Linked DNA regions of Homo sapiens: all the other regions are linked to region 3. Evidence: promoter capture Hi-C in 16 types of primary human blood cells and fetal thymus (Javierre and others, 2016). All regions are on one chromosome and are shown on one strand. Each heading gives the region's core, a stretch centred on a gene start or on the middle of the fragment in contact. The rest is flanking DNA. Distances are from core to core; before and after follow the strand shown.

The links. Contacts are between HindIII fragments. The CHiCAGO score rates a contact against its expected background, and 5 or more counts as called.
Region 1: a contact is called between a fragment that was not itself captured here and the fragment with the promoter of YARS2 in region 3, in 1 of 17 cell types (monocytes). The highest score is 7.5, in monocytes.
Region 2: a contact is called between a fragment that was not itself captured here and the fragment with the promoter of YARS2 in region 3, in 1 of 17 cell types (M0 macrophages). The highest score is 5.4, in M0 macrophages.

What each region holds. Positions count from the first base shown.
Region 1 is chr12:33,604,807-33,607,506 of GRCh38, reverse strand. No RefSeq gene overlaps it. Among named protein-coding and RNA genes, the nearest start is that of SYT10, 170 kb to the right of the region's middle. The HindIII fragment of the contact is 246 bases long and covers 1,186-1,431 here.
Region 2 is chr12:33,535,211-33,538,039 of GRCh38, reverse strand. No RefSeq gene overlaps it. Among named protein-coding and RNA genes, the nearest start is that of SYT10, 97 kb to the right of the region's middle. The HindIII fragment of the contact is 1,471 bases long and covers 663-2,133 here.
Region 3 is chr12:32,754,554-32,757,253 of GRCh38, reverse strand. It overlaps YARS2 (tyrosyl-tRNA synthetase 2), which reads left to right and starts at 1,357. Exons shown (of 5, transcript NM_001040436.3): 1 at 1,357-2,158. The coding sequence starts at 1,380. RefSeq lists enhancers at 498-1,137, 1,342-1,571, 1,592-1,691, 1,138-1,777, 2,062-2,221 and 1 more. The HindIII fragment of the contact is 6,832 bases long and covers 1-2,700 here.

The sequences.
Region 1 (2,700 bases), core at 59-2,558, 850 kb before region 3:
ACAGATTCCAAGGTATGGTGGCTTTCCCATTTTAGTTTTAAAGTTACAGAAAGTGAAAGCTAAATTGAACAATCTAGGCGTGTGCGTGTGTGTGTGTATATATATATATGTATGTATTTTAAATCTTAAATTCAATTTGGGATAAAAGCAAAGAATCCCATAAAATACCAAAAAGAATATTCCAATTAAGGCAATTAAGAATTGCAGGCTGGGCGAGGTGGCTCACGTCTGTAATCCCAGCACTTTAGGAGGCCAAGGCGGGTGGATCAGGAGGTCAGGAGATCGAGACCATCCTGGCTAACACAGTGAAACTCTGTCTCTACTAAAAATACAAAAAATTAGCCAGGCGCGGTGGCGGGCACCTGTAGTCCCAGCTACTACTGAGGCAGGAGAATGGCTGAACCCCGAAGGCGGAGCTTGCAGTGAGCCAGGATCGCGCCACTGCACTCCAGCCTGAGCGCAGAGCGAGACTCCGTCTCAAAAAAAAAAAAAAAAAAAAAAAAAAAAAAAAAAAAACCAGAATTGCAGAAGTCCCGTGACTGGAATGCACTTAGCACATTCTGTGAGTGATAAGAAGGCAGGTGTGATAAATAACAGCAGGGAAAGTGAAACCGATGGTGAGAATTGAGGTTGGTAGATATCCACAGCCACGACTTATACAGCCTTGTAGGTAGGACATAATAAAGTCACTGGAGTTCAACTTGAATGTGAGGGGAAATCATCGAGACTATTCTTAACAACTCACTGATGCTACCACCTTTGGATCAACTATTTCACTCAGAGAAACTCCTCCAGAAAATATCAGTGACAGACCACCCTATTAACCATATAAAGTATGAGGTCTAGCATCAACATGTGACCCTGAGACATCTTTCCATCCTTGGAAAAACAAATTAAATTACTTAATCTTTTGTAAATTTTTGTGCCATGGGTATAGAAGGTGTTTTGTTGTTGCTGCTGCTGCTGCTGCTGTTTTTCCTATCAATGCAAACGATATTTCCACTCCAAACTCTGCAGTCCCACTTGTGATGCATTCAGCTATTCAAAAAGCATTTGCTGAGCCTTCACTTAGTGACAGATGCTGTGCTAAGCTCTGGGTATAGAGCACTGACCAAAATAAGCTTGGCAGCTGATGTCAGTAAACTACTCTAGTGGCCCTTAAAATCCAGGAATCATTTACAAGCTTCACAATGGTTGATACCTGCCACCACCTAATTAGAGACAAAATATCTATATCTACTTACTTAGCTTACTGAGTTTTGTATAAACGCATTTTAAAGACTCATCCTATCAAAGTTATTTCAGTATTCATTGTTTTAATTAACAAGATAATCACATCTTCAGATATTAAAGTACAGCATTACAAATGGGAAAATGCTAAGCTCAGTTAAAATAGAAACTACATGATAGCTGGAAGATTTTCTGTAAGCTTTGAGGAACAGAATGTATAATGCATCAGTGGCAAACCAACCTATATTTGAATTGCTAACTTGTTTCCTCAGGAACATTTCTTCACTCCACCAGGAGAGGGAGGTTTACTAGGGTGAGATTTTTACAACCGGAAGTCTTGTGCAGTGTCTCCTCTCTCAGGATTTATGTAGAAATAGGTCATGCTATTTTATTTCATTACCGTCACCAGTTATTGCCATTATTTATTTTTAACAGGTGTGTTAGATATATATTTGATATACAATAAATTGCAAATATTCAAAATATACAAACTGACATTTTGACATACATGTGCATATAAGAAACCATCAACTTAATCAAGGTAATAATAATAAAGGTGTTTTTACACTACCTCCCCAAGTGTGTCCCATTCTGCTATGTAATTCTGCTTTCTACCCATTCCTGCCCCTTACCCCTTGTCACATGAAAACCAATGATGATCTGCTTTACGTTACTATAGATAATTTGGATTTTTAGAAATGTATATGAATGGAATAATAGAACATATACTTATTTTTGTCTGGCTTGTTTTATTCAGCATAATTATTTTAATATTTCCGTATGTTATACATTTCAAAAGTCCATTCCTACTTATTTCTGAGTCATATTTCAAATTATGAATAGTTTACAGCTTATTTATTCATCTTCTAAGTACTTCTTAGCTGCACCCCACAATTTTTTCTTTGTATTTGTATTTTATTGTTTTTCTCATGTAAAGAATAACTTTATACAAAATTATTGAACATAACATAATTTAAAGTTAAAGTACCTTTAAATTTTAAATTTACCTTTTGACTTATTATTTGGCCCATGGGTTATTTAAAAGTATACTATTCAGTTTTCAAATATTTGGGGATTTTTTTCATGTATCTTTCTCCTGTTAATTTTAACTTTAATTTCATGGTGATAAGAGAACAGACACTGCATGGCGTGAATCCACTCAAATTTTTGAGGCTTGTTTTATGGTTCAGACATGGTCTATACTGGTAAATGTTCATGCCCTTGAAAGGAATGTACATTCTGCTGTGTCAAGTGAAGGGTTTTTAAATGTCAACTAGACAATTTGGTTGCTATGCTGTTCATGTCTTCAGTGTCCTTACTGACATTTTTGTCTGCTTATTCTGTTGGATTTTTAGGATTTGTCTATTTTCCTTACAGTTCTATCCATTTTTGTTTCATGTACTATGATGCTCTGGTTTTAGGCATACAAACTTTTAATATTAATATGTTTTCTTGGTGAATATATCCCTT
Region 2 (2,829 bases), core at 149-2,648, 780 kb before region 3:
GGAAAGCGAAGTTTTAAATGTACAGAATTAGACCCAAAATTCAAGTGAGATGATTTTAAAATAAATCCCATAATATTTTAAGGGAGAATAGGTAAAGCAAAATCCTTGAGGAGGAGGTGGAGAATAGTCAGGATGCAGGGAATATGATCAAGGACAGAGGAAGAGAGTCATCTTAGCAGGCAAGAACACATGGACACAGGGAGGGGAACATCACACACTGGGCCTGTCGGTGGGTGGGGGGGTTAGGGGAGTGATAACATTAGGAGAAATACCTAATGTAGGTGACGGGTTGATGGTTGCAGCAAACCACCTGGGCACGTGTAACAAAACTGCACATTCTGCACATGTAACCCAGAACTTAAAGTAAAAAGACAAACACCCACCACCAAAAAAAAAATATAACAATAAATTAAAAATTAAAAAATAAAGTGTCAAGGAGGGATGCAAAGTTGGGGGAGTCTTATGGTATTTATTTATGGTATTTATTTCTAGCAAATGGCTAGAAATATGGTATTTATTTCTAGCAAATGGCTAGAAACATGGTATTTATTTCTAGCAAAAGGCTAGAAATCAGATTGCCATGCTTCTAAGGGAGCACCTTCTCCAGATGGAAAGGGATTTGACAAGGCACTGTTGGTAACAATTTTTTGGGGAGGAAAGCTTACATTTAATCCTTATGAAGTGTGACTGCTTATTAAATTGATCAAAGCTCTATTAGAACATGAACATGTTACTGATAAGACTATCACATGAAGCAGTTAAGTAATTAAAATCTGATTTGCCATGCTGCCCATGAACCCTTAACAATGTGTTTTTGAATGAAGGCAGGGAAGATGAGAGAGGTGGCACCATGAAATTTTTGATTTCAACAAACTAAGGAATAGGTTAAAAAAAAAAAGGCAAAAGATCTGTTTTAAGGAGAGCTTCAAATAGAATCAAAGTTAAGTCTGTGCACCTAATAAAGCTGTGTGGTGTTATGGTATTATTATTGAGGGAGAGAATCTATGGTTTCCCTAAATTATACATGTATCAGCAATATCATCAACACCTTCAGGATTCTACACGTCCAAAATCTAACTGCCAAACACAGCCCTGGGTAATGACAGAGCTGGTCTCTGGGGAAATCGTCCAGGGGACAGTTGTGGATTAAAGACGGGTAGTCAGAGGAAAGAATAAATTGATGACAGACACAAGGTAAGCAATGATTGCTTTGGGGTAGGAATAGAAGAACACAGAGGGGAGAGAAAATAGTACTTACCTAGAATACCCAAGTGCAAAAAGAGCAAAAGTGCCATTAGAAAAGTGTGCCTAGAGGGTCTCTCTGAGCCTCCTCTGGCTCAAGAGGCTGCCAAATTCGTGAATCATTCTTTGCTCAATTAAACTCTGTTAAATTTTATTCAGCTAAGAATTTTCTTTTCACAGATGTGTCAGAAGTGGGATCTGAAGTACAGCTTCTAATGACCCCCAGGAGTGCTGAGTGACCAAGAAAGGTACCCACTGCACCCATTTGTCTCCATTGCTCTCTCACAGCACTGGGATCATGGTAAGTTCTCTCTCAGACTCTGAAGCCCCATAGAGTTTTGTTTTGAGCTCTCCAAGTTTCTTTGAACAAATTCTGATCCAAACTGGGTTTGGAAGTTGTGACAGAAACTGGACTGAGTCCAGGATTGGATTCTATATTAACTGGCTTAGATCCATAAAAGAGGCCTCTTATGTCTGACTGGATCAGAAAGAAACTGGTAGTAAATGGCAGTATCGCAGAGGGTATAAACTTTGGCTTTTAAAAGTTTGCAGGAATTTTTGTGTTCTACCACCTTTCTTTTTCTTGCATGCTTGGGTAGGAAAAAAATCATTGGCTAAGTTAATCAAGGAGATCTGAAAACCAAGGTAAATATGTGAGGTAAAAATGGAATCCTTAGTTTCTGGAGAACTGAGTACCTTCCAGCTTACACATGCATAAATAAGTATTAGGCCCTGGAAGCAGCAAAGTCTTAGAGAAATCGTAAAATCTTACTAAAGATTACTTACAGTGGAAGATTCCAAATGAACAAACTGTACTGAAGAAGCACATTTGAAAATGAGGGCTCTCAAACTAGTGTCTTATCTAGGGATGCCTATTGAGAGGCAGAAGCTTTTAAAACGATTTCAATATTTTTATTTAAAAACAAATAAAAAGCTTAAGTGACTAACTGATAAGAAAAATTAAATCTGCTAACCTTTTGGCTTAGTTACTATCCTGCCCCGAAGGTGAAAAGAAAACTATCCTAGAGAAAGTGCTTATAAAAGGTAGGCCCTCAGGTAAAATAGGCTTGCTTCTTTTTCAGATCTATCCATGCTGAGTCCAGGCCTAGGGAATGCCTTCTTTGCCCTATTCCTTGATGGGTTCCACCCTTAACTCAGTAATTTTAGCTAAGAAACAGTAGCTAAGTTAAAAAGAACACCTATCAAACTAAAATACACCTTTCTGGAATTTAATTGGCTATCTTAAAACCCTTTTGTAAAAAATAATTACATCTATTAAGGAAATCTCCATGTTTAAGGATGTCTGCCTATGTACATTAGAAACTCTTACCATTGTTTTAAATTTACATAAATCATACCTTTGTTTAAGGTGAAAAAACAAAGTGTGCCTAGAGTCACAGCATCATATATTAATTCGGTACATTTATTTAAAAATGAGCATGAAGTACTTGCTCTTTATAATTTCTATTTCTTAACTATAATCACAACAGAAGTACACATTAAAGAGCCAAATAATTAGTTATCAAGACAGCATTTAAATATTTGCTGACACTCAGTATATGTTAAGGTTTGAAATGAAACAATAAA
Region 3 (2,700 bases), core at 108-2,607:
TATCTCAAAATCCTATTGAAGTTACTATTTGGCAATGAGAAACTAATTCACTGATAATTATACATGCAAAGAAACTAATTATTAAAATAAGTTTTCATTTTGTTAGATAACTTTATAACGTTAAAAAATGGAAAAGTCCTGTAGGGAATGATTTGGAACATGGCCCAGATCCCAGTCACAGGACCAAGGCACTCAATCCCCCAGCTGCTGGGAGTGTTGGTTGCTTATTGCTCACAGCTGAGTCCCTTCCTGCACATCTCACTCTCCAAAAGCCTTAACCCAGCGTTTTGCTTCCTCCCCAGAAACATCCCACATTTAATGAGCAGTCAGTAAGAGGGTCTAAAGGTCTGCCCCCTGGCCTCAATTCAGGATGACTCTGAAAGGAAATCCCGGCTCCAGAGCCCTTACTGGATTGCCTGAGGCCTCTATTACAAATTGTTCACAGTTCAACTTCTTTCTCCCTCCGCCCAACCCGGCCTCCCTCACTCCATTATAGGTGTTGTTCTTAAGAGCACACTCCAATTACCCTCCTGCAAACCAGTCTCCCCCCCAACTCAGAGTCCAGGGAATTCTACCTAAGACGATTTTGAAAGCGGTCCTAGAAATCAGGCTCTAACATGGGATTTTGAAGCTAGATCACCTGCCAGCCAGCTGCCAATAAGAACCTCATCCCTGGTCAGTATTCAGAGCACCTGTCACGCTGCACGATGTGATTACTAACTTGAATCCACTCATGCTAAGCTGTGTCCCAACCTAGTTAACTGTATTTAAAATAAATAAACCACAGGACTTGATGCATGTACTTTATTGCACTGAGTTTTTCTTGCTATACCTTGGACAAGACTGCCACCTCCTGGAAGAGCCGATGAATACTGGGGACGAGGTGCAATTAGGGAATCGGTACTATGAAATTGCTTGCGTCTCAGCAGCAACTCCCTATCTCTCCGCGAACTTAAACCAATTCCTAACCTTTCTCAACCTCTGTGAACAGCTTTTTGCATGGAACCAAGACTTCAAAGAACTTGCGCATCACAATCTTTTTACGTGAAAATGTAAATACAAGTTAGCATTTGTGAAGCGTTATGTGCCAAATGCTTTAATTTTTAAGGCTCACAACAGCCTTATGAGGTAGGAACTATCATAAGCAGATCCACACTGCTGATGGAAAAATTAAGTTTAAGGGAACGTAAGGCGACGGCTCTGAGGCGGAATCGCCACTTGGAGTCGGGACTCAACTGCTGAGAGCGCAAGCTCCGTAACTACGTAACCGTCTCGGGCATGCGCAGAAAAACACTGAAGCACCTTCCCTAGGAGCTGTAAGTAGGTGGGTGTGGTGGGAGCCTCTGCAATCCCAGCATTCCCTTCGTGCCGCTACCAAGATGGCGGCGCCCATCTTGCGGTCCTTTTCCTGGGGCCGGTGGTCTGGTACCCTAAATCTCTCAGTATTGTTGCCCTTGGGGCTGCGTAAGGCCCACTCGGGCGCTCAGGGGTTACTGGCAGCGCAGAAGGCTCGAGGTCTGTTCAAGGACTTCTTCCCGGAGACGGGGACGAAAATAGAGCTCCCAGAGCTCTTCGACCGTGGCACGGCGAGTTTTCCCCAAACCATTTACTGTGGCTTCGACCCCACGGCAGACTCGCTTCATGTGGGTCATCTACTTGCGCTGCTGGGCCTGTTTCATTTGCAGCGAGCGGGCCACAACGTGATCGCGCTGGTGGGAGGCGCCACGGCGCGCCTGGGAGACCCGAGCGGCCGTACCAAGGAACGCGAGGCGCTGGAGACAGAGCGCGTGCGAGCCAACGCGCGAGCTCTGCGCCTAGGGCTTGAGGCCCTGGCGGCTAATCACCAGCAGCTTTTCACTGATGGGCGCTCCTGGGGCAGCTTCACTGTGCTGGACAACTCGGCCTGGTACCAGAAGCAGCACCTGGTGGACTTCCTGGCGGCAGTGGGGGGTCACTTCCGCATGGGGACGCTGCTGAGCCGGCAGAGCGTGCAGCTGCGGCTCAAGAGCCCCGAGGGCATGAGCTTGGCCGAGTTCTTTTACCAGGTGCTCCAGGCCTATGACTTCTATTACCTCTTCCAGCGTTATGGATGCAGGGTCCAGCTGGGCGGATCTGATCAACTAGGCAACATCATGTCCGGATATGAGTTCATCAACAAGTAAGTGCCTTTAAACCTTGGGGAAATCCTGGGACCAAATAATTTACACACTAGTAGCCTGTGATTCACTCTTAGGATTGTAGTTGCTGCCCTTCGTTCCAGCTCTTGTTGGTTTTATCCCCATTAAGGCTCTATAATGGCGTTAATAACACTGGCTAATAAGAATTAAAGGGCTGAATTAAGGGTATTAAGAGTAAACGGTGTATTCTAAAAATTAGCTGGGCGTGGTGATGCACGCCTGTAATCCCAGCTATTCGGGAGGCTGAGGCAGGAGAATCTCTTGAACCCGGGAGGCGAAGGTTTCAGTGAGCCGAGATCGCGCCACTGCACTCCAGCCTGGGGCAACAGAGGGAGACTCCGTCTCAAAAAAAAAAAAAAAAAAAAGGGAAACAGACCACTAGTGAAGATTTGGTCGGTCTGTTTTGCTTCGCCTAAGTCGTCCTCTCTAATTAGAGAAACTGCTTTTGTGTGTTTATACCAGAACGTGACTGGGCCTCCTTGAGTAGCTAGCCTCTGCTTTAGCTCTGCACCCTCCATGAAAC